Regions from separate parts of the Homo sapiens genome. Here all the other regions are linked to region 2. Evidence: promoter capture Hi-C in human tissues and cell types (Jung and others, 2019). All regions are on one chromosome and are shown on one strand. Each heading gives the region's core, a stretch centred on a gene start or on the middle of the fragment in contact. The rest is flanking DNA. Distances are from core to core; before and after follow the strand shown. Region 1 has its middle 90 kb from the start of ASTN2. Region 2 holds the start of ASTN2 (astrotactin 2). Region 3 overlaps ASTN2 (astrotactin 2). Region 4 has its middle 68 kb from the start of ASTN2.

The links. The method cuts DNA at HindIII sites, captures the fragments that hold promoters and counts their contacts. A contact is called where the count stands out against the background at its distance.
Region 1: a fragment that was not itself captured here is called in contact with the fragment with the promoter of ASTN2 in region 2 in 2 of the 25 tissues and cell types used here (IMR-90 fibroblasts and aorta).
Region 3: a fragment that was not itself captured here is called in contact with the fragment with the promoter of ASTN2 in region 2 in 5 of the 25 tissues and cell types used here (H1 embryonic stem cells, aorta, dorsolateral prefrontal cortex and 2 more).
Region 4: a contact is called between a fragment that was not itself captured here and the fragment with the promoter of ASTN2 in region 2, in 3 of the 25 tissues and cell types used here (dorsolateral prefrontal cortex, hippocampus and pancreas).

The regions. Positions count from the first base shown.
Region 1 is chr9:117,501,767-117,507,697 of GRCh38, forward strand. No RefSeq gene overlaps it. Among named protein-coding and RNA genes, the nearest start is that of ASTN2, 90 kb to the left of the region's middle. The HindIII fragment of the contact is 5,434 bases long and covers 583-5,931 here.
Region 2 is chr9:117,412,929-117,418,804 of GRCh38, forward strand. It overlaps ASTN2 (astrotactin 2), which reads right to left and starts at 2,129. Exons shown (of 23, transcript NM_001365068.1): 1 at 1,569-2,129. The coding sequence starts at 2,010. The HindIII fragment of the contact is 9,596 bases long and covers 1-5,876 here.
Region 3 is chr9:117,296,503-117,302,397 of GRCh38, forward strand. All of the region lies in intron 1 of ASTN2 (astrotactin 2), which reads right to left. Among named protein-coding and RNA genes, the nearest start is that of ASTN2, 120 kb to the right of the region's middle. The HindIII fragment of the contact is 5,743 bases long and covers 834-5,895 here.
Region 4 is chr9:117,479,958-117,486,492 of GRCh38, forward strand. No RefSeq gene overlaps it. Among named protein-coding and RNA genes, the nearest start is that of ASTN2, 68 kb to the left of the region's middle. The HindIII fragment of the contact is 4,983 bases long and covers 2,625-6,535 here.

The sequences.
Region 1 (5,931 bases), core at 2,050-4,549, 90 kb after region 2:
TCCTGGGCTAGTTCACTTAGATAATGGCCTCTAACTGTATCCATGTTCCTGCAAAGGACGTTATCTTGTAGTGTTCAATGGTGTACATGTACACATTTTCTTTATTCAGTCTACGACCAGTGGACGTTTAGGTTGATTCCAAGTCTTTGCTATTGTGAATAGTGGTGCAATGAATATACGTAAGCATGTGTCTTATGGGAGAATGATTTATATTCCTTTGGGGATACATGTAATCGTGAGATTGCTGTGTCAAGTGGTAGTTCTGTTTTAAGTTCTTTGAGAAATTACCTAACTGCTTTCTGCAGTGGCTGAACTAATTTACATTTCCAGCAGCAGCATATAAGCATTCCTTTTTCTCTGCAGCCCCACCAGCATCAGTTATTTTCTGACTTTTTAATATTAATAATAGCGCTTCTGACTGGTATCTCATTGTGGTTTGATCTGCATTTCTCTAATGATTGGTGGCATTGAGTATTTTTTCATATACTTGTCTGCATGTATGTCTTCTTTTGAAATGTGTCTGTTCATGTTCTTTGCCCACTTTTTAATGGGGTTCTTTGTTTTTGCTTGTTAGGTTCCTTATAGATTCTGGATATTAGGCCTTTGTCAGATGCATAGTTTGCAAATATTTTCTCCTATTCTGTGGGTTGTATATTTACTCTGATGATAGTTTCATTTGCTCTGCAGAGCTCTTTAGTTTAATTAGGTTCCATTTGTCAATTTGATGTTTTTGTTTTTGTTTTTTGCAATTGCTTTTGGCATCTTCATCAACAAATTTTCACCAGGGCTTATGTCTAGAATGGTATGAATGGTATTTCCCAGTTTTTGTAGTTTTAGGTTCTACATTTAAGTCTTTAATCCATTTTGGGTTGATTTTTCTACATGATGTAAGGAAGGGGTCCAGTTTAAATCTTCTGCAGATGGCTAGCCTGTCATTTATTGTTTCAGGGCACTATTTATTGAACAGGGAGTTTTTTTTACTATGGCTTGTTTTTTGTTGACTTTGTTGAAGATCAAATAGTTGTAGGTGTGTGGCTTTATTTCTGGGCTCTGTATTCTGTTCCACTGATCTATGTGTCTGTTTTTGTACCAGTACCATACTGTTTTGGTTACTATAGCCTGGAAGTATAGTTTGAAGTCAGGTAATGTGATGCCTACAGATTTGTTCTTCTGGCTTAGGATTGGGTTGGCTATTCAAGCTCTTCTTTTCGTTCAATATAAATATTAGAATTTTTTTTAATTCTGTGAAGAATGTCATTGATAGTTTGATAGGAATAACATTGAATTTGTAAATTGCTTTGGGCAGTATGGCCATTTCAATAATATTGATGCTTCCTATTTATGAGCATGAGATGATTTTCCATTTGTTTGGCCCATCTCTGATTTCTTTCAGCAATGTTTTGTAATTCTTGTTATAGAGATCTTTAACCTCACTGGTTAGCTGAATTCCTAGGTATTTTAGCTTGTTTGTGGCTATTGTGAATGGAATTGCGTACTCGATTTGGAAATAAGCTTGGACGTTTTTGGTATATAGACATGCTACTGATTTTTGTACATTGATTTTGTAACCAGAAACTTTGCTAGCATTTCTTAACAGATCTAGGAGCTTTTGGACAGAGACTATGGGGTTTTCTAGGTATAACATCATATCATCTGCAAACAGAGATAGCTTGACTTCCTCTCTTCCTATTTTGATGCCTTTTATTTCTTTCTCTTGCCTGATTGCCCTGGCTAAGACTTCCAGTACTATGTTGAATAGCAGGGGTGAGAATGGGCATCCTTGTCTTGTTCCAGTTCTCAAGGGGAATGCTTTCAGCTTTTGACCATTTGGTATGATACTGGCTGTGGGTTTGTCATAGATGGCTCCTATTATTCTAAGGTGTGTTCCTCAGTTAGTTGAAGGTTTTTAACATGAAGGGATGCTGAATATTATTGAAAGCCTTTTCTGCATCTATTGAGATTATCATGTGGTTTTTGTTTTTAGTTCTGTTTACGAATGAATCACATTTATTGATTCATATATGTTCAAACAAACTTGCATCCCAGGGATAAAGCCTACTTGATTGTGGTGGGTTAGCTTTTTGATGTGCAGCTGGATTTGGTTTGTTACATTTTGTTGAAGATTTTTGCATATACACTCATCAAGGGATTGGCCTGAAGTTTTCTTTTTTGTGTGTCTTTGCCAGGTTTTGGTATCAGGATAACGATGACCTCAGAGAATGAGTTAGGGAGAAGTCCTTCCTCCTCTGTTTCTTTTAATCGTTTCTGTAGTAATGGTACCAGCTCTTTTTATATGTCTGGTAGAATTCAGCTGTGAATCAATCTGGTCTTGGGCTTTTTCTTGTTGGTAGGCTTTTTATTACTGATTCAATTTCAGAACTCATTATTGGTCCGTTCAGGATTCAATTTCATGCTGGTTCAGTCAAAGGAGGTAGTATATTTCCAGGAATTTATCCATATCTTCTAGGTTTTCTAGTTTGTGTGCAGAGAGATGTTCAAAACAGTCTCTGATGGTATTTTGTATTTCTGTGGGGTTGGTCGTAATGTCCCCTTTGTCACTTCTGATTGTGTTTATTTGGATCATCTTTTTCATTAGTCTAGCTAGCAGTCTTCTATTTATCAAAGAACAAATTTCTAGTTTTGTTGGTTGTGTGTGTGTGTGTATGTGTCTGTGTGTGTGTTTTAATCTCAATTTCATTCAGTTCAGCTCTGATCCTTGGTTATTTCTTGTTTCTGTTAGCTTTGGGGTTGATTTCCTCTTGGTTTTCTAGTTCCTCAAGGTGTAATATTAGGTTGTTAATTTGAGATCTTTCTAACTATTTGATTTGGGCACTTCATGTTATAAACTTTCCTCTGAACATTGCTTAGCTGTGTACCAGAGATTCTGGTATGTTGTATCTTTGTTCTCATTAGTTTCAAAGAATTTCTTGATTTCTGCCTTAATCTCATTGTTTACTCAGAAGTTGTTCAGGAGCAGGTTAATTTCCATGTAATTGTACAGTTTTGAGTGATTTTCTTGGCATTGATTTCTATTTTTATTGCACTGTGGTCCAAGAGTGTTGCTAATATGATTTCAGTTATTTTTTAATTTGCTGAGAATTGTTTTATGGCCGATTCTGTGGTTGATTTTAGAATATGTGCCATATGAAGATGAGAATAATGTATATTCTGTTTTTTGGGGTAGGGAGTTTTGTAGATGTCTGTTAGGTCCACTTGGTCAAGTGCTGAGTTCATGTCCCCAATAGTTTTGTTAGTCTTCTGTCTTGATCATCTATCTATTACTATCAGTAGGGTGTTGGAGACTCCCACTATTATTGTATGATTATCTGTGTCTTTTTGTAGATCTCTAAGAACTTGTTTTACGAATCTTGGTTCTCTTGTGTTGGGTGAATATATATTTAGGATAGTTACAAATTGAACCCTTTAACACTCACATATGTTTCCAAATTGCTTGTTTTACCTCCCTCTCTTTCAGGGATGCCAATGAATCATTGATTTGGTGTCTTTATATGGTCTCATATTTCTTGGAAGGTTTTGTTTGTTTTCAATTTTTTTCTGTATTTTTTTGTCTGACTGAGTTAGTTTTGTAATGCTCTTCTTTGCCTTTTTTGATCATTGTCGGTTTAAAGTCTGTTTTGTCTGGAATTAGAAAAGCAACTGCTGGTTTTATTTTGTTTGCTTGGTAGATTTTTCTTCATCCCTTTACTTTGAGCCTATGGGTGTCATTGCATGAGATATGGGCCTCTTTGAAGACATTATATAGTTGGTTCTTGTGTCTTTATCCAGTTTGCCACTTTGTGACTTTTTTTTTTTTTTTTTTTTTTGAGACAGAGTCTCGCTCTGTCGCCCAGGCTGGAGTGCAGTGGCGCGATTTTGGCTCACTGCAAGCTCCGCCTCCTGGGTTCATGCCATTCTCCTGCCTCAGCCTCCCGAGTAGCTGGGACTACAGGCACCCGCCACCATGCCCGGCTAATTTTTTGTATTTTTAGTAGAGACGGAGTTTCACCGTGTTAGCCAGGATGGTCTAGCTCTCCTGACCTCGTGATCCACCCGCCTCGGCCTCCCAAAGTGCTGGGATTACAGGCGTGAGCCACCATGCCCGGCCACCACTTTGTGACTTTTAATTGAGGCATTTAGCTCATTTACACCCAAGATTAATATTGATATGTGCAGATTTGATCCTGTCATGGTCATGTTAGCTGTTTATCATGAAGACTTGATTGTGTGGTTGCTTGATAGTGTCAATGGTCTATGTAGTTAAGTGCATTTTTGTGGCAGCTGGTAATGGTCTTTCCATATTTAATACTCTCTTTTTTTTAATTATACTTTAAGGTCTAGGGTACATGTGCACAATGTGCAGGTTTGTTACATATGTATACATGTGCCGTGTTGGTGTGCTGGAATACTATGCAGCCATAAAAATTGATGAGTTCATGTCCTTTGTAGGGACATGGATGAAGCTGGGAACCATCATTCTCAGCAAACTATCACAAGGACAAAAAACCAAGCACTCTCTTAAGGACCTCTTGTAAGGCAGGTCTGGTAGTTAGGAATTTTCTTAGCATTTCCTTGTCTGAAAAAGATCTTATTTCTCCTTCACTTACGAAGCTTAGTTTGGCTAGATATAACATTTTTGGTTGAAGTTTATTTTCTCTAAAATGCTAAATATATGCCCCCAATCTCTTCTGGCTGTAGGGTTTCTGCAGAAAGTTCTGCAGCTAGCCTGATGGGCTTCTCTTTGTAGGTGAACTATATCTCCTCTCCAGCTACCTTTACTATTATTTTATTCATGTCGATCTTGAAGGATGTGATGACTATTTGTCTTGGGGATGGTCGTTTTGTATAGTATCTTGCAGTGGCCCTCTGCATTTCCGGAAACAGAATTTCAGCCTATCTAGGAAGGTTGGGGAATTTTTTAATGAATGATATGGTCAAATATGTTTCCAAGTTGCTTGTTTTATATCCCTCCCTTTCAGAGATGCCAATGAGTCATTTCAGGGATGCCAAGTCGTTGATTTGGTCTCTTTATATAATCCCATATTTCGTGGAAGGTTTCTGTTTATTCTTTTTTTATTTTTGTTTTTCTATATTTTTGTCTGACTGAATTAGTTTTGTGAATCAGTCTTTGAGCTCTGAGATTATTTTTTTAGGTTGGTCTATTCTGCTGTTGATACTTGTGATTGTATTATGATATTCTTTTAGTGTGTTTTTCCACTCTATCAGATTAGTTTGGTTCCTTCTTAAAATGGCCATTTTGTCTATCAGCTCCTGCATTATTTTATCATAATCCTTACATTCCTTGGATTGAGTTTCAACTTTCTCCTGAATCTTGATGAACTTCCTTGCCATCCAGATTCTGAATTTTATGTCTGTCATTTCAGCCACTTCATTCTGGTTAAGAACCATTGCTGTGGATCTAATGCAATTGTTTGGAGGTAAGAGGACACACTGGCTTTCATACTTGCTAGAGTTCTTGCACTATTTCTTTTTCATGTGTGTGGGCTGATGTTCCTTTAACTGTGGTGTAGTTTGAGTATAATCAGCTGACTTCATTTCTGGATGTTTTCAGAGGGCTGAGGCTTTGTGCTTGGGAGGTAGGCTCTTGCTTAGCCAAGCTCCTCTCTATCTCCATGCATTTGCAGCTGTGCTCCCTCTCAGTGCTCTGAGGGTGTGAGCTCCTCTCCTGCTTGACTGCTGGCTGCAGATTTTGACTTGGCACTCCCTGGCTGCACACAGCATCCCTGGGGTGAGCTCTGGCTTTATGTTCCCTCCCCAGCTTGGGGGAACCAGGGACAGGGACCTTGGTAGTGGCAATGAAAGAAGGCTTTTCATTTGTCTCTTGGGGCTCCACTTAAGAGAAATACAGCACCACTATCAATCAGAGCGATAGGCCCGAGGTGGGATGGCTGCCTTGTGGTCCCAAGCCAAGAA
Region 2 (5,876 bases), core at 879-3,378:
TGGGAAGAGCTACTGGTTTGTGTGTGTCTGTGTGTGTGTGCTTGGTGCGTCGCACCCCAGAAGCGCCGCCGCGGGGAGTCCCCGAGGAACCTGCAGGACGCTCCGCTGCCTCTCCTCCCGGAACGCTCGGCACGCTCAGGTTACAGCCTGCGAGGGTGGGTACAGGGGCTCGACCCCCGAGGTTCAAGCTCAGAGCGGGAGAACCACTGGCACTCGCTCAAATCCCCAGAGGTGGTAGCATGAAAGGATGGGGAGTGGGTCACAAAAATACTTTTAACAATATCAGGGCTACCAGGAGAGTGGAGCGTAGTCCGCTGATTATTCTGTGGGTCTTTTCAGGCGAGCAAGGAGTTAACCTCGGAAGTTCAGGGATCGTAAAGGTTCTCACCTGGAAGGCCCCTCACCTGCGGTGCCCGAGGCGGATCCCGCCGAGGAAAAGACCCGGGGAAGAAGAGCTCCGGGTCTGGGCGAGCCCCTGGCGCCTCACGGGCGCTGTTGTTGGCCAGACTCCGACAACCAATAAGGCCCCGCGCCCCCAAGAGGGGAGGGGAGAGCGAGCAAGCAGCGAGCGCGGGAGAGCTAAGGGGAACAACATTTTTGTAAACGCTCTCCGAGATAATTAAGCTATCAATTACCCGGGTGGGAAATCAGCTGCGCTTCCCACAGCTCCACTGAAGGGCCGACTCCTCCGGGATTCGCGCAGGGAACCAGCAGGCAGCAAGCTGCTGGCGAACTTTTCTGATTAACTTTTCCGTTGGAGCCCCCCACCCACACCCATCTCCTCTCCTCTCCTTTTTCTTGCCTTTAAGTAATTATTATTAGCCCAGGGAGTGAGCTGCAAGGACAAACCGGCTCTCTGCCTGGAGGTGGGTAGAAAGGGAAGGCGGTAACGGGGGTAGAGGGAGGCTCTAAACGTGGAGACCTCGGAGTCGGAATCCCAGTTCTCAGCAACCACTCAAGTCTCTCCAGCCCTATTTCACAGATGGCCAGAACTGAGGCTCAGAGAAGGGAAGCGACTTGGCCAAGGTCACTCAGCCCATGCGGAAGCCACGCTTTTGCGGGTTGAGCGATTCCACACGGAACTACTCCATTCCTACTCTCATGAAAATCCATCTGGAAGGGCAGAACCCGCAACTCCGAGGCGAGAGCGAGGGGGCGGTGACGGCGGGTGGCCAGTGACGGTACCCGGAGAAGTGGGAGGCTCGACCTGAAACTGGCTTAGGATCTGGGATGCTCCGGCCCCTAGCCAGAGCACCTTCAGTGAATGGGGTCTCCGGCTTCCGGGATGGATCAAGCAGAGCTCCAGGTCGGGACTGAGAGGCAGAGGGGCAGGTTCCCACTGCGGGAGGGTTGGCACGCCCCCAGGCTCCCGCCGCGCGCTCTCCAGGACCTCCTCCCACATGCTCGTTTCCAACCACCTGTGCGACCTCTGGGCCCCTCCTCTACCCTCTGCCAACCCCACTCGGGGCAGCCCCGGGCAGGGATCCCCAGGGCGCCCCCACCCGTCCGGCATGACGCAGGGGCTCGGGGTTCCTTGGGATCTAGCGCGTGCCGGCGCCCAGCCTTACCCAGGGTGAAGAAGGGCAGCTCGGTGTTGTCCAGGTCGTCCTGCACCGCGATGCGCCCCGGCAGCTCGTTACGCACAAAGAGCAGGAGGCGCGACTCGGCGGCGGTGCCGGCAGAGCCAGGAGAGCCCGGGGACGCGGCGGCGGCGGCGGCTCCGGCCCCGGTCCCAGCCCCGGCCCCGGCGCGGGCGCCGCTCCAGCCGATGTCGCTCTCCCGCAGGGCGGGCAGTGTGGACACCGTGACGGTCTTCAGCCGGCACGGGCTGTCGGGCTCCCGCGAGGCAGCGGCGGTGGCGCCGGCCAGCAGCGGCGGCGGCGGCAGCAGGAGCAGGAACAGCAGCAGCAGCGGCAGCAGTGGCGGCGGCCCCGGGTGGAAGCAGAGCCTCGGCCGCCCCCGGAGCCCCGAGCCGGGGCCGGGGCTGAGCCGGGCGCCGGCGGCGGCCATGGCGGGAGGGGCTGCGGTGCTGCGGGCGGCGGCGGCGGTGGCGGCGGTGGCGAAGGAGGAAGAGGAGGCAGCTGCGGAGACGGCGGACGCCGAAGCGAACCAGGACGCCCGAGCTAAGGAGCGGAGAGAGCCGCTCGCCAGCAGCCCCCAGCTCCGGGCTCCGCCTCCCGATCGGCCCTGGACCGCCCCCCCGCGCCGCCTCCCGGGGCCCAGCCGCCCGTCCCCGATCTCCGGCTCCCCCCGCAGACCCCGAGCGTTTCGGAGGCTCCGCCCGGCCTCGTGCAAGTCCCAGTGGCTCCCTCCCCTTTCCCAAGATCCCCCAATTCCGCCCTCACAGCATTCTTTAGCCACAACACCCCTCCCTAAACTCCCCAAATTCCTAATACTTAGGGCCCCCTCGGGCCCCCCCAAGCCCCCCTGACTCAACCCAGTTCTCCTGGCTTCACCCCACCTTCGGCTCAACCCAGAGGCTGCACCTGGGGGCGCGCCTTGGCCCAGCCTTGCTCAAGGCCCCGCCTTCTTGGGGATAGGGAGCCCCCTGGATAGCCAAGACTTAACTTTGTCTCCCCTCAGGCCCAAGAACAAGTCCTTTCTCCAATCTCCTACCCTTTTCTAGTCTCTGAAATAACTTCCTGTAGCCTCAGAGCCCCCTTCCCACCCACTTGGCCACAACTCCTGCATTCATTCTCCCACTGCCCGCAAACCTTCCTCTCCCCTCCATCCAGGCCTTGTGCTAGCACTAATTGCTAATGGACAGAGGGGCGTCGAACTCCACCGTCTAACGCCGACCCCACAACTGACTGAAGCCGGGCTGTTCTGGCCCCCTAGCTGCCGCCCTGCAAGCCAGCCCACTCACGCTTTTTTATTTTGGATCCCTGCTCCCAGCTTGGAGCAGCTCTACTTGGCTGCTTCTGCTCTCTGTGTGAAATTCCTGAAAAGGGTGTGAGGTAGAGACCTACTATTCTGTCTGTCCTTGGCTCCCGGGTCTTTTAGATCCTCTGCCCAAGTCCCAGAGAACGGGAGTGCTCACCAATTCTTCACCTGCAGTCTTTCTAGACTCAAGTTGAGCTAGGTCCTCAGATTCAGCACCCTTTGGTCTTGGGCTGACTCTGTCTCTGACCCACATACCTGAGACCCTCCAGGGAGCGGACACCTCTGCATGGGTCAAGTGCCGTGCAGCCCCTTCCCCACTCCCCTACTTTTCTTCATCTTCCCTGTCTCTGTTTTCTGTTTCATCTCTCCATTCATTTCCTTCCTTCTCATCTTGACTTTAATCTTACAAATGCTTCTTTCCTATAATTTGTGAGCAACTTCTCATCTCTGTCTAGCTTACCCATCTGCACCTTTTGTGCTGTCTCTATGCATTCACTTTTCTCTTAGCTCTTCCCTCTTCTGTCTCATTCCCCTTTTCTATCTTTAACCCTTCATATAAATTGCTTTTCTCCTCTCTCATCATATATTTTTTAATAACGTTGGATAAAGGCAGAGCACTGAAAATAAGGAAAAAAGCAAAAGCTGTTTTGCGACCTTGGACTTAATGTGTTTAAAGCATTCTCCAAATGCTAGACATGTACGTATGTTAGCTTTTTTACATGACCATAATCCAAAAAGATGGATATTATGATTCCCATTTTCCATGTGAGGAAACTGAGATCAGGTGGTCAGGGAGGTGAAGGGATTTTCCAAGGTCGTATAGCAAATGAGCTGAAGAGCTGAGGTTTGAACAGTAGGCTTCAAGCCTTGACTGTTTCCCTTAAATTACACTGTCCTCAGTGACCTTGGAAAACCCCACCCATCAAAGATGCTGTAAAAGGTAAATCTGCATAAGCACAGTTGGATCTACTTCCCTGTGAGGTTTGTAAGGTATACTTCTCCTGTCTCAGTTTACTAATCTGTGAACCCAAAGGATGTGTGGAGGTTGGGGTGGAATCTGGCCTTTCAAGTCCTCTAATTCTAAATGGTCTCCTGCCTCTCTGATGCCTGCTCTAGTTCATTTACTCCTCCAAAATATGTCACCCTGCCTCCCTCAGTCTCTCCTTTGTGTCCTTACAATCCGCCACTATCCACCGCAATGGGGCTTTCTGATTCTCTATGCCCCTTTCTTCAAATATGCTGACATAGTCCATTTACAGAAGAGCACACCAGGAAAAAAGGGCTCCCTTATGTAAGGCAGAGTCTGTGCAAGTCCTTCATGGACCTCTAGTACAAAGGCCTGTCAAATGAGACCAACACTTTCATTCATTCATTCATTCATCACCAAATATTCAGGGTGCCTACCAGGTGCTATATGGAGATGCAGGGATGGATAAACACAACTCCTGCCTTTGGAAAGCTTATAATGATTGGGGTGAGGGGGTGGGATGCCGGAAAGAGACAGGCACATAAATATCTCAGGTAATGGGCAGGCAGGCAGACATGTGTTTCCTAAGATGAGGTACTTGGAGAAATCAAAGAAAGCTTCCCAGAGGCGGTGGCTTTGGAATTGAACCATAAAGATTAGTAACAAGGGAGTGGGCATTCTAGGTTAAAGTTGGCATTTGGCATTCTTTGCAACTGCTTAGTAAATGAATAAATCCCTTTCCTACATCAGAGAATGTTTTATCTTTTAAGGCACAGCCCACCTCCCATGAAGAAGCTAACATTTCTGGATACTTTCTCAGCCTCCACTGCAGCTAGAGCTTGGGCACATGACCCAGGCTTCACCAGTTAGATTCACCCACCCCAGATGCTGAAAAATAAGCCGGAATCAGGCAGAATCCAGTGGCGGCTAAAAGGGCAATAGTTGGGGCAGTTACATCCAGGTGTCTCTGCTAGTCGAAAAGGTTCTAATAGCACTGTTTGGAGCCCAGTGATATCAATGTCAACAGTGTGAAGTGCCTTTTATTTATGCTTGGCTGCAGCTGAAACATATCTTCACCCATACAGTTCTGTGCTATGATTTGGAGTGGTGCTCTTGACTTCATGCACTTTAAACCCAGATCCCATGCCTTTCTGGAGATTCTAAGGAATCTAATAATCACTTAACTGAATTCTGAATTCTCTTTCTGCTTAAATTATTCAGGATTGCTTTCTGTTGCTTGCAACTGAAACACCTGGCTGAGAACACAGAATGTGGAAACAAAGGGAGGGCAGAGACAGCAAGGTGTATGATGGGAAATGAAGCTCAGTGAGGGGGAGAGGGAGTAACTGAAGACAAGACAGAAAAGGCAGACAAGGAGTACCAACTTTATATCACAGACAGTGTCAAATCTGGAATGTCCACAGGAAATGACTTATACTTCTGAACACATGCTCTGTGATCCAAAACTTTTTGTAGCATATCAATGAATGATGATAACAACTGTTGCCTTATGGTGGTTGTGAGGCTTTAGAAATAATTATACAAAGCATTTAACACATAATAGCTGCTCAATAAATTATAACTACTGCTTTGATGTATAATCTCAGCAACATTTGGAGCAAGGCTTTTTATCCCTATTTTATAGGTATGAAATCGGAGGCTCAGGGAAGCTGAGAAACTTGATTTTGGTCATGGAGTTATCAAGTGGTGAAATACAAGAATGCCTGGCTCCCAAATCTTTGCTCTGTCTGTCACAGAATGCCCCTCCTGGCCTCAGCCCTTTGCATGCAACTTATTCCCAGTATACTATAACTTCCCTACTCATACTCGAGTCCCCTGTCCTATGACCACCACTTTTCTCCCTCTCAGCCCCTCACACTCCTTCTCCTTTCCCCTCTTTGTTCAGTTATATTTCATTATTGATTCAATTCTTTCTCTTTTACAGTCCCCTGTACTCCCATCTTTGACTCCACTGATACAAAATTTTTTTCATTCTAACTCCTTTCCAGTCTTTCTAGCAAATACT
Region 3 (5,895 bases), core at 2,455-4,954, 110 kb before region 2:
CCAATTGCATTTTCCCTTTTCTCTTCCCCTACTCCTTCCATATAAACATTTCATTGAAGTCTCCAAGTCATATTACAATCAAAGTTTAAGCAAAAGGGGGACTAAATGCATTGGGTCAGGAACCAAGATGATTCCCATAAAGGCAGATTATGCTGACATGATGAATATAAAATGAAACAGCAGATATTAAAGTGGGAGAATTGGTGCACCATGCCTTTTGGCAGTAGGCTGACTCCAGTGCCTGCCTCCCTCCCACCCTGGATAGCTTGGTTTTATATTGGAATCATAAAGAAACACAGGGATTGCCTTTTCACCTTTTTCTGCTCTCCCCCATGGGCTGCAACTCGTGAAATATTCAACAGGCTCAAATCCCCTCAACTGCCCCACAGAAGCTGAGAGAGAGGATCAGCCTTCATCAGTGATTCTGGGTAGACTGCCATCCTGCCTCGGTGGCCACTGATGCCTTTCAGCCTCCCGGAAAAGAAATAAAAAATCCCAAAGGCATGTTGTGCTTTTAATCGGCTTGTTCTTCCTAATCTATGGCACTCATTGTATTTTTATTTAATTCCTGAAGGTCATTAAGAAAATAAGCAGCTCTTCTCATCACCAGCCATCTTGGTAACATCTCCCAAGTGGCTAACTAACCGGCCTTCTGATTCTACAGCACCAGCTGACCCTCCAGCAGATTATTTGCTGAAGCCCAGAGAAAGCTTCCAATGAGTTTGCAAATGATCTTTTTCTCACTGTGGGGAAAGCAGACATTACATGAGATGAACTCACCGCCCGGGCAGAAAGAGTTGGGAAAGGTAGTGGTGTTGACTTTAACCAACCTTGCCACTAGCTATTCCAGCATTCATGGGTGATTGTCACACATCAAGTCTTGCTGAGTGAGCCTGGGAAATAATCGCAAATACTCATGCCCTTTTTCATCTCTAAAATGCTTAATTAATGCAAAGCTTTATCATCTCTCTCATGGGCTATTGCAAATGGTTCTGTGCCAGTCAGGGTCTCATCAGAGAAGAGGAGACATACTCAGGAAGGTCAATGAGAAGTGTTTAATGAAGGGAGCATTTACAAAGGCTTGGGCTAGGTTAAGGCAAACTAATGATGAGCAACGAAGTACTCCCACATTGATAACAGCAAGGAATTGTTACCACCCTAGGCCTGAAGGGGCAAGGGATGGTGGGGATGGGGGATTATCAAACCCTAAAAATGCCATAGCTGTAGGAAAGGGCTACCATATAGCTACCAGATAAGAACTATAGCTTTTTCTAAAATAATCCAGCCACTGCCAATGCACAACCTAGGATGGAAGCTTTCAAGAGGGTAATTTCCCAACCTCATCCTCCTTCTACCCACCAATTTTTTGCAGGTGTCTCACACAAGTTGACCTTGACTAAACGCCCAAGAATGCTTAAATGAAACAAATCATATAAGTCAGCCTTCCTGGGTGCACAGCAGGTGGGAAAGGGGATCTCAAGAAGTAAATGAATAGGCTCCTTAACAGGTATCCCTACCTTCGGGCTTCCTTCCTTCCAGCCAACCATTAAATGGCTACCAGGATGAAATTTCTAACTTGTCAAACTGACCATATAATTCCATTGCTCAAAACCCTCCAATGTTTTCTACTATCCCTCATAATAAAACCTAATTTATTGAACCAGACACACAAGGCCCTTCCTGGCCTGTTATGTGCATTTCTCCCCAGTCTGATCTCTTCCTATGCCTTTCCTTGCACTTAAATATTAATTCTCACCAGATATTTATATAACGTACCACATATACTATGTGTTTTTCCTAATTTAATATGTTGTGCTCCTCCATGCTTTCATAAGGAGGAATATTGCATGCTGCATAAGATCACAGGGTCTGGAGACCAACTGCTTGAATTTGCATCCCAGGTCCCATGTGTTCAACCTGTGTGTTTTTGGGCAAGCTCTTCGCTTCTTCATGCCTCAGTTCCCCCATCTACCAAATGAGGATAATAACAGCACCTGCCTCACAGGGTCGTTTTTAGAATCAAATGAGATAATACAAACAAATTAGCTGTTAGGTTGGTCTTGATACTTAGACAGCACTCCACAGTTACATTTGTTATATATTACTTCATATACATAGTTATAGTATCCTCTTTTACTACTGTCTTGGTGTGTGTATATATATATGTGTATATATATATATATATATATGTGCATATGTATGTGTGTGTGTGTGTGTGTGTGTGTGTGTGTATATATATATATCTTAAAATAGTCTATACAGCTGACTTCCCTTATTGGATCCTAGTGCAGGGACATGTCAGAATTATTTGTGTAGCCTGGTGCCTGGTACAGTGGCTGAACTGAATAGGGGCTCCATAAATGTTCTGTATGTTTAATTGAGCCGTCCCATATTTGAAGTCAGATGAGTGTTTCCAGAGGACAGAGAGAAGAGACAGCAACTTGGGGTGTCAATAATGGCTGGATTCCCATACAGCAACTCTACAGAAATTTACCTAACATCCTGGAGCATGCACATGAAAAGAAAGAAATGTTAATTTTCAAGGAGCTTATATTTTCATGAAGTGAGATAGGGGAAGTTCATATAGAAAATGGACTCTGTTATGATTCTGTTTAGACATGAGTATGTGTATAAACAGCTGGAAAAAAAATACACTGGACCACGAAGAATGGCACTCACTAAATAGTGGGATCAGAGGTGATTTTAATCATATTCTCATTCACTTTTCTCTACGTTTTTTATACTGACTATATTTTACCTCTGTAGCAGATGCAAATACTCACTTTAAAGATTCATTTAGTCAACCAACCTCTTCTGAGAGCTGGCATTGTGGGACTCTGTCCTCAGGAGCTTAGTCCAAGGGGCTGAGAAAAGACATGCTATAAATAGCTATAAAGCAAAGTAGAAAGCTTAGAGGAAAGGAGATTACTTCTGGCTGGATCTAAAAACTCTTCATGGAGGAGTCTCAAAGAATTGGCAAGATTTCAACAAATGGCTGTGTGGCAAGAGGGCACTTCAGATGGAGAATTGGCACAAGGGAAGGAAGGCAAGAAGGTCACAAATGTACAAAGGGATACAGTGGGGGGAACCGGTATAAAACGCAGAAGCCACCATTATAGAGAGAGGCTGGGGGTTACCAACTCTTGCCCATGGAGCATCACCTAGCAGAATAATACAAGTGCCAGGTCCCACTTGGGGCTCCTTTATGCAATCAGACCAAGCCCGAGCTCAGAGGTTAATAAAGCTCTCCATATATCATGAATTAAGATGACAAGGTGGATGGACTGATGGGTGAATGGGTGAATGGATGGACCACAGTCATTCTGACTTAATTAAACAGCCTGGGTTAGTGAAGAGAATACTAAATTTTGAGTCAGAAGCTTATATTTTTGTGATCCCTCTACAGCACCTGACTGGTATCCTGGAGCACAAATTACAGAGCCTCTATGATTTTCTTTACTTGTAAAATGGGGGTCACAGTCTGGCCTACTTACATCACATCTAATGTAGAACTGAGAGAAAATAAGGCCATACATAGCAACATGCTTGGAAATCTGCAAAGTTTTACAGTTAGTACTGAAAGCAAATGCAATCATCCAACGACATACTTCATCCATCAATATACCTTCCAATAATTATCTACTGACTATCTGAAATGTGCCAGGCACAGTGCTAGGTCCTAAGGATAGATTGGAGGAAAAGATCAATTTGACTACTATCCTCACAGACTTTCCAGTTTAGTCTGGATATTCCTTTGTTCCCTCTAAGCAGCAGCAAGCATTTCCCCTTGCTTCAGTTTTTTCAGTCATCCACCCATTTAATCATTAATTCATAGTAGAAGGCGATGCCTGTCTAGGACATTACAGTCTTCATTATTTAGCATGCTGCAGGTGTGCAATAAATATTTGTCAAATCAATGTATCACTAAATGTACATTTTCTGAGTTTCTTGTCTTCAAGAAAGTCACAATCTAGGAGAGCAGAAAAAGGAAAGTCAGCAAAGATGATAAGTGTGTGGTAATGACCACAAGATAGGAGGTACAGCTTGTTACAGGAACACACGTGAGAGGTCAGTTAATGCTCCTCATTTATCAGGAGATTGGACAGGGCAAGCAGGGAGAGTCTATAATCTGGACATTTCATAATTCTAAGAGATCCTGATGTCAGGCCAGGTTAAATGCCCACAGGATAATGCCAATGGTATGCTAGGTTTGGGAGGTCACCCGTGGGGACAGAAGGTGGAGAAGTGGCAGGGGCCACAACATGGCCAAAGCCCTCTGGCAGCAGCTGGAGAACAGACTCAAGCTCTTCTGGAAAGAATGGTACTCTTCAAATAGTGGGATTAGAGTCTCCAGACTCCAGAGGTGCCTTAGACTCCTCCTCCCCAACCCCAGCTGTCAGCGCTCATCTCTGCCTCTGCCTCCAATCTGCCCATTACCACCTCCTTTGGGAACTGCATCTTTTACATGAAACTGTTTTCCCAAGCCACTCAGTGAAGATAAATAATACAGTTATACCCAGTTAAATAAGGGAGGGGAAGAGAAGAATTAAGAGCTATTGGCAAGGGAGAAAAGCATATCGTTTCAGATTAGATTTGGAAATAGATAGAGGGTTGCTGGAATTGATTCTCATTACTCCTAGTTATTCTCTCCCGTACCATTTCCCTCTCTCCTTGCTGTATTTCTTTGCTTGGTCTTTGTCATTTCGCTTCATGATATGCCCTTGGTTTCTATGTTTGCATGCTCTCTCTGTCTCTCTTTTTAAAAACACAGCCCAATGTCAATGAGTTTTTCTACTTCTTCTTCTCCTCTTCCTTGTCCCACAACATTGCAAACTGATGCAGAGAGTGGGTGACTAAAGAATGGAGACAGGAACTAACCTTTGCTAACACCTACTTACGTGCCAGGCTAAGGGCTTTCATTCATTGTCGCATTTAGCCCTCATAGGAAACCCACATAGGTAAAGTAGATAGTAGAACACCGAGTTTTCAGCTGAGATGTCTGAGGCCCTAAAAGGGGACTACACTTTTCCAAACCCTGATTCACAGATTCCAAATTCAGTGTTTTCACCACTGTCCTACATAGGCTGAGAAAGGAGCTTGCATATTTGAGTAAAGAGATCGAGGAATCAAGTGTATGCCAGGAGGTGTGATATGATAAGTACCAGGGCAGTAGGCATCCTTCCAGGTCACTCAGGTGCTCTGCCTATCCATTTCATCATAGTAAAGTCCTTTGTTTCCTCTGTTTTTAAGATGCAAATATCTCCTGGGAAAGAGGTATATGAAGCATTCTGTCTTACGGTGAATGAGTTTTTAAGATCACTTTGCTCCTTCCTATATTTCACTGGGTTGACCTTTAACAAATTAAGTTCACCTCTCTGAGCCTCACTGGCCTCACATGAAAGAATGGGAATCATAAAATCAATCTCTTATGATAGCTGTGAGAATAACAGGAGATAATGCATTGGAAGGAGCCTAGAGCAGCATTTAGCCTATGGAACTCCCTGTCAGTTGTCTGTCTTCTCGTCACTCTTTTCTATCTCACCACTGTCAAGGCAAGAAGCACCTGGTTGTTTTGAGAAAAGTGGTGGGGGTGGGAGGGGGGGTGACAGTACCAAATATAAAGAAAAAGGAGGCAGCAGTCACAGAGATAAAACTTCCTACTTTACTTGTAAACAGTTTCCAAGACCCTTCCACCTTGTCCCCAGTGCCCCGTAAACCTTTTAAAGTTATCCCTACAGCAACGATCTGGAATCATGGAAAATTACAACAGGAAGAGAGTGTAAAGGGATAGAGATCAATGATCTATCCCACCCATTTTACTAATATGTTAAATAAGGACCAGAGAAGAGTAGCAACTTGCCTTAAATCACACAGCATCATGATGCAGTGTTCTTC
Region 4 (6,535 bases), core at 3,866-6,365, 70 kb after region 2:
TGTATAGTAGGTACTATGTTAAGCACTTGGCACAGTAAGCATTTAATTGTCATTTTAAGAGCATCAATCCTTCAGAAAGGACCCTGGCTAGTAAGGATCTGGATGCTCAGGAGTACCAGGCATCAACTCTTTAGTAGTTGGATCGTCCAGAGGTCCAGAGCATCCCAGGGGAGGAGGCTGGGGTGTCCAGGTATGTGCATGTGTGAATGTGTGTGTGTGTTTGTGTGTGTGTGTTTGTATGTGTGTGTGTGTGCTGCTGTTTACCAAAGAAACAGAATTATTTAACACAAATTTTAGCCAGCAAAGCTATATTTAGTGTGACCATCCAATTTATTGTCCAGACTGGGACATACGGAATTGAAAGAGGGCACTATTAGTAAAGTAAGTAAATCAGTGATTCAGAATCAAGTGATTCTGAAATGTTAGTATGCATCAGAATCACTTTGGAGAGCTTGTTAAAATACAAATTGCTGAGATCCACCGAAAGTTTCTGATTCAGCAGGTCTTGGGAGTGGCATGAGAATGTGCATTTCTGGCAGGATACCAAGTGATTCTGAGACAGAGAGAAAGAAAGAGAGGAGAGAGAGAGAGAGAGAGAGAGAGAGAGAACATACAAAGAATAACAACTACAAAGTCTAGAAAAAAATGTAGCAACCTAATTTCTCTGTGCCTTACTTACCTTTTTACACTTTCCAGCCTTAATTTTTTCAGTTGTAAAGCAGTTGTTATATTGTAATTTCCTTTATAGAAGGTAATATAGGATCAGTGATTCTCAAATTTTACTTCCTGCTAAATTTTAAAAAATGAAAATAAGCGATTCCTGGGAGAAGAATAACAGCTTCTGGGAGTAGATAATATTTCTAGCTTATTAATTTTAAAAAGTGAAAATAAGTGATTCATGGGAGAGGAATAACAGCTTCTGTGAGTAGATAACATTTCTAGCTTAAAGGCACTGAGAAGGTCTGCATAAAGAGATTTGCATAATTGAAAATCCAATTTTATTTTTTTCCATGAATGCTTTATAACTTTCTTCCCTAGAGCAGTCTTATTTTAAGAAACTAGATTTTCCTGGCACCCAATTTGGGAAATAACTCTGGTGCTGAAAGCATTTTGTAAAATGTAAATAGCCATTTAGGCCATAATAATACTAACATTCGAATGATGTTTTTGTAGTTCATAATAGACTTTAAAATTCAGATGATAATTTGATTATCTCAAAAACTTAAAAACCTGATCAAGAAGGAAGAATCAGCATGAAATCCAAGGTTTGGAAAAGTTGTTGAAGATCATCCCAAGGAGAAATGGCAGAAGCAAGATTTAGAAATTAGGTTTTCTGACTTCTTGACACCAGGATGCAGAAAAAAAGTAAGAAGATGGAAATTTTGATTCACAAAACAGCAGTCAAAGAGGCGTGTATGTTTATGTGGCAGAGAAGGGCATCCTGAGAAAGCAAGTTCCCTCACACCAAGCTTATGCCATGAGAAGTTATAAGATGTTGATCTAATATTAGCGAGGTAATGAGAAGAGGGAAAAGAAGACTGCTCTTAGTCAGAGCTCTGTGAGAGCCAGGGAGTGGGTTCTGGACTGATGACATTTGAATGATGTTCTGTAATTCGTTGGTAAATAGATGCTGATATTTTCTTTAATTGTCTGGAATGTGGCCCCAGGATTGTGCCTCTATCCTGCTCAAGCCAAACATGGGGTCCCAGCTGTGATCACAACATTGAGTCTTTTGATTTCTGGTCATTTCGTACAGACAACTGATTGTACCATTCAAGAGCTTGAGGAGACACGGTGACACCATCACATTGCTCAGTTGCTGCAGCTGATGCTCCATGCTATTGGGTTCCCCCTGGGCCCCTGATTTCTTCAGGAAGAGGAGATTGGGACAACATAGTAAGACAAAATGGAGGGAGAAATAGATAGATCACATGAGTGTCTGATCTGTGCTAGACTGATGCCTGGTTGGACCATTCAATATCATTCTACCTCTCTCACTTTAGAGATGGGAAAACTGAGACACAGAGAAGAAAAGTACTTGCCAGAGGTCTCATACAGAGTCTAAGGCGGAAAGAAGGCTAAGCTGGAACTGTCGGGGTCCCTGCATAGAGCTGTTTTAATGACACCCAACCTCTGTCTAAAATATTTATGGCCAATGATTTCCCAAATGTGTTTTCCAAGTACTTAAGGTTTTAAAGATAGCCTTGAAAGCTAAAAGAAAAGGAAGAGGAAGTAGAAGAAGGCACAGGGTATGTAGGGAGTGTTTGGGATCTGTAACCCTGTCACCATGCACACACTTCAACCAAAACAGCTCCTGTTTTGTATAGTGTGCTTTTGCATAAGATTTTGTTTGGTCAGAGTGTTCTGCTCCTCAAATGAAAGCTGAAAAACAATTGTTCCAGAAGAACTCATCGAAAAATCATTCTCCAACTTTGGATATGTTTGACTTTCTCACATAATGTGATGTTTATCTATCTAGTCAATGTGGACATGGATAACAGTTATCCTGACATTCCAAACTGGCCATTGGAAATGTAGGATTTTTCATTTATTCAACCATAATGGCCCTGCCCAGGGCAAAGAGTGTATAGCAGTGGGCAAAACAGGCCAAAAGCCTGGCTACAGAACTGGTGATTGTCTCCCTGATTTTGCCATAGATAACCATCCTTTTCAAAGGAGGAGTGACTTCTGAGCTTAGAAAGAGCTTCTACATCTCTTACCTCTGGAGAGACTCAGCAGAATGCCTGAGGCAGAGGGAGGAGGCGTTACTATGGCCATTTCCAAAGAAGGAGCTTACAGCACAGAACAGAAACAGGCAGAACTGAAGTCCCTATGTCATCTGAGAAATGATATCTGATTCTAGAGTCTAGCACATTTTCTCGAATATATATTTAGCTGACTGGATGCTCTGTGAACAACAGTGATAATAATGATGATGATTAATATATTTTACTAGTCAGGGTTCTTCAGAGAAAAAGAACTGATAGGATCTCTTTACCTCTATCTATCTATGTATCTATCTATCTATCTATCCATCCAACCATGTATCTATCTCATATTTATCTGTATCACCATTATTATGTATATATCTCCTATTGGATAGACATAGATATTTGCCCATGTCTATTCATTTCTCTCTCTCTCTCTCTTTCTGTCTCTCTCTCTCTCTCAATCTTTCTATCTATCTACTTACCTATCTACCTATCTAGAAGAATAGGAGTTAGGCAGAGTTCAAATCATAGACATTGCAAATATGATGGTAAAGGATTTGGACTGTGGGCATCTAGGAAAGGAATGTGTGAAACAGGGCTTATGCGATTTTCCTAGGGTTTTAGACAAGATTTATGAGGTTTAACAAATATCGTGAACATAATACTTTCTCCAAGCTCCCACCCTGCCCTTAGCACACATACTGGATTCTGATGGTCGTATACCTGTAGCGAAGCACTTAGCACCAATTCTTTCAACTGATCATTACCTCCATCCTCAGCACAAACAGGAAAAGACCACAACTGGAGCATGTTCATGGCTCAATCATCCTGGCCAAATAGAATAAGTCCCTTTTTTTTCAAGTGAGAACTCAGGCCCAGAGAAGGCAAGGGAGCTGTAAGGAAATTGAGATAGATGCTGAAAAAGCCAAGACAAAACCCAGGTCACTTCACACCAGAGGGTTTGCCCTCTGCTCTCTAGAAGGCATCTGACAATGTATGGAGATGTTTTTATTTGTCACAACTGGGGAAGAACTACTGGCCTCTCACAGAGGCTGAGGAGGTTGCTAAGCTTTCTGCAATGCACAGATCTCCTTAAAAAGAATTATTTGGCTCAAAACTTCTATCATGCTGAGCTTGAGAAACCTGGCTTTACATCATGCTTGGATCAAGCAATTGTTGAATGGGGTTCTTGCAAATGATCTGATTTCCTTACAGCTGAGTGAATCAAGGTTCAGCAAAAATGAGTGACTTCTCCAAAGTCACATGGTGAAATCAGGACACATGTCATGGCTTCACTAACTTCCATTTCAGTTCCAACATTAATGCTTCTCACTAGCCTGTGCATAAGTCAGGTACATAGTGTCTGATGGGGAAAGAAAACAGATGTTATCCCAAACTGGCCACAGGAAGTTGTCCTCTGGCAGAGTTGACCAAGGTCGTATAGTAGTCACTAACATCCTAATTAGAAGTGGGCGGGGGGGTGGGGCAACACCCAGATTCTAATGGAGCCAAAAATTATGGTTATAACACATAGACTTAATCCTCATGGGGTGCCTGTTCCTGTTTAGGAATTTTGTTAAGAATTGAGGATTTAGGCTGGGCATGGTGGCTCATGCCTATAACCCCAGCACTTTGGGAGGCTGAAGTGGGCAGATCATCTGAGGTCAGGAGTTCCAGACCAGCCTGGCCAACATGGTGAAACCCTGTTTCTACTAAAAATACAAAATATTAGCTGGGCATGGTGGTACAAGCCTATAATCCCAGCTACTTGAGAGGCCGAGGCAGGAAAATCGCTTGAATCCAGGAGGTGGAGGTTGTAGTGAGTGGAGATTGTGTCACTGAACTCGAGTGTGGGCGACAGAGAGAGACCCTGTCTCAGAAAAAAAAAAAAATTGGGGATTTAATAATGAATAGGACACTGTTGCTGCTCTCTTAGCACATACACATGCTAATAAATACACTCCCCACTCCCTAAACTTTGAGGATTCAATGATTGAAAACCTAGGCACTGGACCTAAATGAACTTATTTTATCACTTCTTTACCATGTACTAGTCAGTGGAACTTAGGCAAGTCACTTTACCTTGTTAAACTTCAGTTTTCTTATCTGTAAAATGAGGAAAATAATACCTACCTCATAGAATTGTGTTAATCATGGAATGAGGCAAACAACATAAAACATTTAACATACTGCTGGGAAAAGCAAGTAGAAATAAGAGCAATAGTCATTGTAATTGTTATAGACAGAAGCCTTGAATCCATGGCTTCCTTCTCCAACTCTCAGCTTAAGTGACCTTAGATAAGTAACGCTCCATTTCTGGGTCTCAGTAAAATGAAGGGATTGGGCTACCCTCTTGTGGGCTATGAATCTTACCTTCTCTCCTCTAAGTGACTCTTGGGTTCATCACTGTTCCCCTCTTCTGAAGGCTGACCATCTATTCCATCCACCCCATGCTAATGTAGCCCAGCCAAGGTAGAGATGGCTGAATCCCCGTGTTTCAGCAAAGTAAAGGAGATGACAAAACTTTGGTTTTAGGCAATCCAGCTAGGTTCCCAGGCTGCCCACTGGCTATCCCTGGCTGCTTAGAATACATATCAGTGCCAGCCTGCAGTGATCATGAACAAAGCCATTAGAGAAAAGATGGTAGTATTTTTATTTTTAACCAAATGACTCACTCCCCCTCCGGCTGTGAGCTGTCAAAGGCACAGGAAGGGAACAGAAGATGTTAGAAATGCAAGTTCATGATACTTTCACCCCCATTGGGAGCCAACCACAGGGGATGCCACACAATCTTGCTCAGCTTAATCAGGCCTAGAAAAAGGTGTTTAAACCAAAGAGACTGTCTCAGGGCTGTAACTTTAAGAAAAAGGAAAAGAAGAGCAATCACATGACCAGTAGGGGACAGTGGCAGAATTAGAACAATTACAACGACTAGAGATGAAGGAATGTGTTAATTAACATTAAGGGCTGAGAACTTCCTGGACTCTGATTTCCAGATGTTGGCTTAGATCAGGAGCTTTTAAGTTGTGCTTTGCAGAGTCCTAGAAGTTCCCTGGGAGCCTTTCATGGGGTCCATGTCTTCTCCTCTGCTTCAGCTGGATTGGCTCTCCTGTATCTATTTCACTTATTAAAGTCATAAGAATTTAATGTAATTATTGGGTCTTTATTATGTGCCAGGCATTGCACTAAACACTCAATAAGTGTGAAGTCATTTAACTTTATAACAATCTTATGAAATATTTACAATTACGATTGCTATTTTACACTTTATGAAATGAAGGCTTAATGCCAAGGTAAATCACTTGCCCTGAGTTAGAAGGCTAATAAGCAGCTTTGAACTAGAAATCAGACCTGTCTATCTGCAAAGCCCATTTTCTTAACTGCAACGCTACTATGGTTCCCCATGCTGGGTTTCCGTGTAAGCTTTTATTTTCAAAAAGTGCTCCATAGTTATTTTAAAAGGAATAAAATAAAAGTCTAAAAGTGACTGATTAGATGTTCTGAGATCCCTCCCAGCTCTAAATTTCTAAATTTTATGATTTATAGAAGAAAAAGCAGAGGCTGCGTTACAAAAACTGATGGTGAGGGACAATGGATGGGGTGTGAGTTAATAATAGCAGCTAATATCACAGCACTTAATAGGTCAAGTGATGCTCTAAACCCTTCATACACATTAACTTATTTAACCCTTGCACCAACCTTCTGTGGTCAGTGCTATCATTATTCCCATTTCTAGATAAGGAAATACAACACAAGAGGTTATAACTTTCAAGGTCACACAAATAGAGGGTAGCAGGCCAGGTTCCAGAGCCTGTATTCCTTGC